Regions from separate parts of the Homo sapiens genome. Here region 2 is linked to region 1. Evidence: promoter capture Hi-C in 16 types of primary human blood cells and fetal thymus (Javierre and others, 2016). All regions are on one chromosome and are shown on one strand. Each heading gives the region's core, a stretch centred on a gene start or on the middle of the fragment in contact. The rest is flanking DNA. Distances are from core to core; before and after follow the strand shown.

Evidence for each region. The method cuts DNA at HindIII sites, captures the fragments that hold promoters and counts their contacts. A CHiCAGO score of 5 or more calls a contact.
Region 2: a contact is called between a fragment that was not itself captured here and the fragment with the promoter of PYROXD2 in region 1, in 1 of 17 cell types (naive B cells). The highest score is 5.4, in naive B cells.

Annotation. Positions count from the first base shown.
Region 1 is chr10:98,412,870-98,416,573 of GRCh38, reverse strand. PYROXD2 (pyridine nucleotide-disulphide oxidoreductase domain 2) reads left to right here and starts at 1,392. Exons shown (of 16, transcript NM_032709.3): 1 at 1,392-1,565. The coding sequence starts at 1,439. HPS1 (HPS1 biogenesis of lysosomal organelles complex 3 subunit 1) reads left to right here. Exons shown (of 20, transcript NM_000195.5): 20 at 1-376. The HindIII fragment of the contact is 3,850 bases long and covers 1-3,586 here.
Region 2 is chr10:98,274,038-98,277,813 of GRCh38, reverse strand. LOC124902489 (a long non-coding RNA gene) reads right to left here. Exons shown (of 2, transcript XR_007062260.1): 2 at 1-3,534. Among named protein-coding and RNA genes, the nearest start is that of LOXL4, 7.7 kb to the right of the region's middle. The HindIII fragment of the contact is 224 bases long and covers 1,392-1,615 here.

The sequences.
Region 1 (3,704 bases), core at 143-2,642:
GCCAAAATTTGCTCAAAGACTGATCTCTTCCTTGCAGGGAACAGCTTTGGGGCTGGGGGAACTAGAACCCACATGTTGGTCTAAACCCTGAGAAGGTGGCAGTGAGGAAGTATCCCCTCAGGTGACTGGATCTGTGTTCCTCCTTAACATCATCTGATGGAATGGCAATGAAAAGCGTGGATTGTGGAAAATACAGAAAAACATAAAGGAAAAAACTCCAATCCCCTGAGCCCACCACTGTTCAGGACCCCTGCTTTTGTCACCTACTATTTCCCTTTAGTTTTTAGCAGCGGCTGGATGTGATATGTCTAGTTTAACCAGTCCCCTTGATCTTTCTATATAATAAATAACACAGGAGTGAACATCCTGAATCAGATCTTAGCAGAGATGCTCACATGCGGGGTAACTGTCCATGGTGTGTGGAGGGGTCCTCGGAACCCCCTCTTAGGATCATCTCCACATACTCTCCCAGTTCTGAGATTCGTTACCAATAGCAGGTTTCCGTCACACTGCGATATCAGAGCAGTGCAGGAACTCTCCGCTCCAAGGGGTTTTTTCCTCCTAGGGGAACACTCTGCTAAGTAATGGGCAGAGAACAAAGGGGCTCCTAATTCAAGGCAGGCCTAAGGGAGGGTCAGAAAGAACTTTAGCTGGAGGTATTTACAGATGTGACCTCGAATCCTTGGGGATTCTTGGAAAATGGGCAAGGTGCCAAAAGAGGAGAACTGGCCAGGCCTTCAAAACTAAAACACCAGAGAATTACAGACAGCGAACTTGCCCCTAAGCCCTCGTTGTGGGTTTGTGTTTGAGCATTTAGGAGAGGACTCCAGTGCTCCTCAGCGACAGACACAGCTGCCTCTGCGGTGTCTGAAGGCCCTGGTCGTGGTGACGCTAGATGGCCGCCCTGGGCGCCTCCTGTGGGCGTAGAGGCATCACCACTCTGCACTGGCAGACTCAGCATGGAGTTGGAGCAGAGTCTGACACGAGCACTTGCCATCCCAGGCGTTTCAGTTCTGACTGAGAAGGTAGATGCACAGGGGAGGAGAGGGCCCTTTCGAGCTCCACTCTGCCTCCACCACTCATTCCCTAACCCCGCAGCCTCAGCGCCCTCATCTGTAAAATGGGGAGTTTTGCCTACAGGGTTCAGCACAATGCCAGCCTGACATAGGAACCCCAGTGGATTGTCAGTTTTGCCATTATCCCCTGCATCCTGGAGGTGACACCGCCTGGTTAATAGGCAACACTCCCGACGGCCCAGCACAGCCCCAGGGCAGCAGGAGGCTGGCCTGTGGCCAAGAATGCATGGTGGAGGGGGCCTGGAGGGGGACTGCAGCTCCTCCTCTTCCTGCTTCCTCCCTGCTCCACCCCGTGCCTAGGGCAGCACAAAAGCCAATCGCTAGCAAACTCCCTGCCTAGCAAGGCCCAGCCTGGGGCAGAAATGGCTGCAAGTGGCCGAGGTCTCTGCAAGGCTGTGGCCGCCTCTCCCTTCCCGGCGTGGAGACGAGATAACACGGAAGCCAGGGGAGGTCTGAAGCCTGAGTATGATGCGGTGGTGATAGGAGCAGGTAAAGTGGTAAAGCAGGCCGGGCCAGAGCTGAGGGGCGGGAAGACAGCCCTGCTCAGAGCTTGGTGGGGAGGGGGAGGGGGAGCCAAGCCCCACTGCTCTCTCCTCTGGCATAACCCAGCCAGAAGTTTATACGCTAGCAGGGGCTGCAATGGAAAGCCCTTCCATCTGGCAGGCAGGCACCTGGGATTCCGGTGCTGGCTCTGCTGTGTGGCCTGGGGCAAATGCTTGCCTTCTCTGGGCTTGGATCTTCCCATGGAGAATGACAGGAAGACTAGGTGAGCTCAGGGGTTTCCCTATATCTCTTGCAAAGTGACCTAGTTTCCACCACATTCTCAGCCTATGGTTTGTAAGGGTTGGAAAGAGCCCTGGGCCAACAGACAAGTGAAATCCAGCACCCCGCCCCCTCAGTGCCCTGAGTTCTGGTCACCACTACCTTACCACTGAGGCCACCCCTCGTCACAAGAAACTGCAGTCATTTCATAAAGGCCAGTTAGGATAAAACAGAACTGAGTCCCAGAGTTCCTACTGCGTGTCTGCAGAGGGAGATGGACCCCATTGCCTTGCAGCTCTGGGACATTTGGGGATCTGCAGTGATCTGCCACACTTTGCCAACCCCTGGGCTCAGAGTATCACAGTCTACTGGGTGCTAGGGGAAGAGGCAGGCCCAGGACCAGGTGGTCTTTCCTTAGTGCCTTCCTTTCACACTTGCAGAGGGCCCCAAATGCATGATTGCCAACTGGGTCTATACAGAGATAATGACGGGACCGAAAGCAGACGGCACTCAACATGCAGCTTTGAGGGCATGCCTTCATTTTCATATGTACTAGAGCAGTTGCGAGCTGGTAGATACTCAACACTCACCTCTCCAGGGAAAAATGTGTGATGTATGTGTGTGTGTACATGTATATATATGTATATATACACACATATATGTGTATATATATGTATATGTGTTACGTACATATATATACACATATACACATGCTTATTTTAAATATTGAAATAAAAGATACACTGCACACAATTTTACAAATAAAGATACAATACTCTCAATTTAAATGCAGTCTACCCGAGTGATTCTTACCAAAGGCTTTCTTTGATTTTTGCCAAACTCAGTAGCCAACCTATAGTTGCAAATGACAAATGAGGGTAGCTCCAAAGAGAACGGTGCTCCATATTTTCTGTAAAGAGTAGGATGATCGTGAAACAAATGAAACAACAAAGATTTATGTCCCAACCTTACTCCTTTATTTTTTAAAATTTATTTTTATTTTATTTATTTATTCATTTATTGAGATGGAGTCTTGCTCTGTTGCCCAGGCTGGAGTGCAGCGGCGCAATCTCGGCTCACTGCAACCTCCGCCTCCTGGGTTCAAGCGATTCTCTTGCCTCAGCCTCCCGAGTAGCTGGGACTACAGGCGCCCACCACCACGCCCGGCTAATTTTTGTATTTTTAGTAGAGACGGGGTTTCACCATGTTGGCGAGGCTGATCTCAAACTCCTGGCCTTGTGATCCACCTGCCTCAGCCTCCCAAAGGGCTGGGATTACAGGTGTGAGCCACTGCGCCCGGCCTCCTTCTTTAAATGACAGGAATGATGTTACTCAAATAAGATAATATTGTTCTAATACTAGAATATTTCCTTCAATTTTTGTGCTATTTATTCATGCTATAACAGCTAACACTGTTAGGTTTAATCTGCATTATTAGCATTTTCCCATCACTTTCTTAAGCCTGACCACAAAAAATAAATTCAGCCCTTCTGTGTAATATTTGCTGATGACAGTGGTGTAAATACTCCCACCATAGCCTTTTCTGTTACCAAGATGAGGTTGCTCAATGTGATTTAGGAGAGATACCCAGTAGCACATCATTGTATAGTGTGTCCACCATGCAGATATGTACATAGAGGCCAGTGACTGCCAGGGCATGGGCAACAGTCAAATGTAGTAAAACAAATAGGAGGTAGTGTGTTTTGAGTATTTATTACCTTTGTTTTTAATTTATTTAATTGTAAGCTTATATAATTTAGTTTATATCAATGGCTGTTTGACAGCCGGCTCACAAACTCCCCGGGCTGGTGGGAGCCATCTCCAGCACCTCACTTAGCCTCAGAGAAGCCCCCTGCCTCCTTCCGT
Region 2 (3,776 bases), core at 254-2,753, 140 kb after region 1:
GCTGAAATATATATATGGAAAGACATTCTAAAATGTATATGGAGGCTGGGTGTGGTGACTCACACCTGTAATCCCAGCACTTTGGGAGGCTGAGGTGAGCGGAACACTTCAGGTCAAGAGTTCAGGACCAGCCTGGCCAACATGGCAAAACCCCATCTCTACTAAAAATACAAAAACTACTTGGGTGTGGTGGCACACACCTGTTGCCCCAGCTACTCGGGAGGCTGAGGCAGGAGAATTGCTTGAACTCAGGAGGCAGAGGTTGCAGTGAGCCAAGGTTGCACCATTGCACTCTAGCCTGGGTGACAGAGTGAGACTTTGTCTTAAAAATAAATAAATAAACAAATAAAATATATATGGAAAGGCAAAGGAGCTAGAATAAACAAAGCAATTTTGAAAAAGAATCAAGTTGGAGGACTCACACATTCTGATGTAAGACTTACATGGAACTATAATAACCAACATGGTGTGATACTGGTGAAGAAACAGACTGTAGGCCAATGGAACAGAATAGAGTACAGATGGCACACTGTAGAACAGGGTGGAGTCAGGCATTTTCCTCATTACAGAGGAAAGGTAGCACTGTTCTGTGCCTTGAGAGGTGGCAGCTTTAGGAGCTGCTAACCCCCTGGCGTGGACAGCAGCAATTTTTGCAGTGGGCACTAGCCACAAATACTTGAAAAGTTTTTTTACAAAGCTTCTTAGGTAATGAACATCAAGGGTTGGGGAGGGGAGGGTGCAAAGCTGGGTGGGAAGATTATGGAAGATGCTGCAATCTAACCGTGGCTTACAGCCTGCTTTATGAGTACATGCTGGCCACGCTTGAAAACTCCTAGATGCAAACTGAGTGAGAATTTGACTGGAGCAGTGGGTGGGGGGCATGGTGCTAGAAGCGCTCACTGAATAGTAGAGAGAAGAACCAGAAAGTATGGCCATTATCATTAGTGTGACCCCAGCACTGTCCTGGAGCCTGGGAAACTTGGGTTATGTTGACTTTTCTGGACCCCCAAAGTGGCTACATAAATCATGGGTGCTCCATAAATATGTGCTGAATGAATAAGCGAATGAATGATCTCATCTATACAAATAGATTTCACTGGTTTATGTAATTCATATAGTGATATGAACATAATCCATGACTTAAACCGAGGGCAGGATCCGGGTCTTTCTCTCTTGGTGTCCCCATGGTGCCTAGTCAAGTGTTTTCTGTACAGATACAATGGCTCCATGCCCAAGACTTAGCACAGAGCAGCACCCACCTTGAATGAGACACATTCACCTATTAGCTCTGATGTAAGAATCCTTGCCAGAGGCCTAAGGCGTTACCCCAAGTTCCTGTCACACCACCTCACCACAGTGACAGCAATTCAGAGTGCTGGTGGGCAGAAGCTTGTTTTCATTAACTGGTAATGAAGAGGAAATTATTTCTCCTCCAAAGTTATGTTTCTGCTGATATCTTGGTGAAATTCCTTCTTTCCCACCTTGTTTATTGGTATGAAATGCTAAAAAGAGACATCATTTATCTACATTTTTTTCTGGATGGATCAGTCAACACTTTAGAGGTCAACCTGTCCTAAGAAAGGTGGTTTTCAGTTAATGGCTAGGAAATGAAGCTTTTCTTGTCCTTTCTGAGCAGTTTTCTTCTTCTTCTTCTTCTTCTTCTTCTTCTTCTTCTTCTTCTTCTTCTTCTTCTTCTTCTTCTTCCTTTTCCTCCTCTTCCTCTTCTTCCTCTTCCTCTTTTTCTTCTCCTTTCTTCTTCTTCTTCTTCTTCTTCTTCTTGTTCTTCTTCTTCTTCTTCTTCTTCTTCTTCTTCTTCTTCTTCTTCTTTTTTGTAAACAAATCAACAACCTTGCAGCTATTTAACTCTTTTTTGGCCACAAAGACGTATCCAGAATGGTCTATGAGGAAGAATGATATATCCAGAATGGCCCAAGACTAAGAATTATCTCTGCAACTCTGGATCCACTGTGAATTATGAAAGCCAGAACCAACTCCAAGAAGAAGGAGAAGGCGTTTGTAACAGGCTCCGGGTCTCTTCTGCCTGCCCAGAGCTAGGCATCAATGACATCTTTTGGCCAGCTGGTCTCCGGGAAGATCTCAGACTTCAGTCTGATGTTCACAGTGGCACTGACTTTTGTGTTGTTGAATAGATGTTGAAATTCCCGTCATGCAGGAAGATTCTGTCAGAATCTAGATGTTGGCCTGACCTCCCCTTCCTGACCCAGCAAAGGTAGGGCCCCCTGAAGACAACAAGAGGAATTCCCACCACCACAATGATGGGCTCCTTGGGGAAATGGAGGTCCTTATAGAACTCTAAGCAGAACATGGCTCTCCCACTCCACATGAAGAGGTTGGAACCCATTTGGAAATAACTGAGATGTAGAAGGCCGTGCTTCCCAAAAACTGTGCTTCCCCAAAACTCAGCCTGACATCTGTGGAAGAGGTTCCTCAGAATGCAAGAGGGCCCCTGCCTGCCAGACAGGTCTGGGACTCCAAGGATAATTGCACCTGCAGGGCTCCAGACTCTGTCAGACCAAACATTGTCCAAAGGTGTGGTCTAGAAAAGAGGTTCTCAGATGATAGCAGGCATTAGAATTATCTGGAGGATGTGTTAGAACACAGATGCTGGGCCCCATCGCCACCAGGTTTCTGATTCAGTGGCTCTGCAGTGGGGCCTAAGAATTGGCGTTTCAAACACAGTCCTGGGCCATGCTGATGGTGCTGATCCAGAACCACACTCAAAGAGCCGCTGGACTAGAAGTGGGGGTTGCTCTGCTGCCCTCCTGCTCTGTCTGGTGGCATCTGAACAGGTTCATCAGACTGAGCCCTGGCTTCTGACAGGGCTTGTCCTTCTCCTTTCCACCCTCAGTCCTGACTTCTTGCTTGGACTTTGATAACACTTTGATGCCAATGGCTCTACATCTCGCTCCTGGCTCTCTGGCTCTGGTCTTGGCTTAGGTCCTGCTTGATCCAGGGATCTCCCTTGACCTCTGTGTCAGGTCCCCTGCCTCTCTGCCCCTCCAAGTCAGGTCAAGGGAATTCCCCACCAGGACAGCTCTTGTCTATCCCTTCGCGGTTCCTGGAAGCTAAAGATGAGCTGGTTACATGAAAATTAACCTTTGGAATCTGTCAGTCCCAGTCTTGAATGATCATACATTCTGGCTGGTAGATAAAACCAATTCCTAACAAAGAGTCTTTGAAATGTTTACAAAGCTCTACATCAACAAACCAAAATGCAAGATAATACAAGACCGGGTCAGGCATAGTGGCTCACACCTGTAATCCCAGCACTTTGGGAGGTCGAGGAGGGCAGATCACTTGATATCAGGAGTTCAAGACCAGCCTGGCCAACATGGTGAAAACCCATCTCTACTAATAATACAAAAATTAGCCGGACACAGTGGCATAGACCTGTAATCCCAGCTACCCAAGGAGGCTGCAGCAGGAGAATCGCTTGAACCTGGGAGGGGAAGTTTGCAGTAAGCCAAGATCACACCACCGCACTCCAGCCTGGGTGACAGAGCAAGACTTCATCTAAAAAAAAAAAAAAAAAAAAAAGAAAAAGAAAAAGAAAAGAAAAACTAAGATGATACAAGACTGAAGATATCTGTGTTAAGTTCACGTGTACCTCTCTTTAATCAATACCTCTGTTCCTGAAATTATTTCCCATGGAATATCAATTAATTCCAGACATAATTCACAAATAGTGGATTTAGGGTTGGGAGTGGCTCCTAACACTTAAGCATTCAGTTTGGCTATGCCCTCAAATAGTCAGT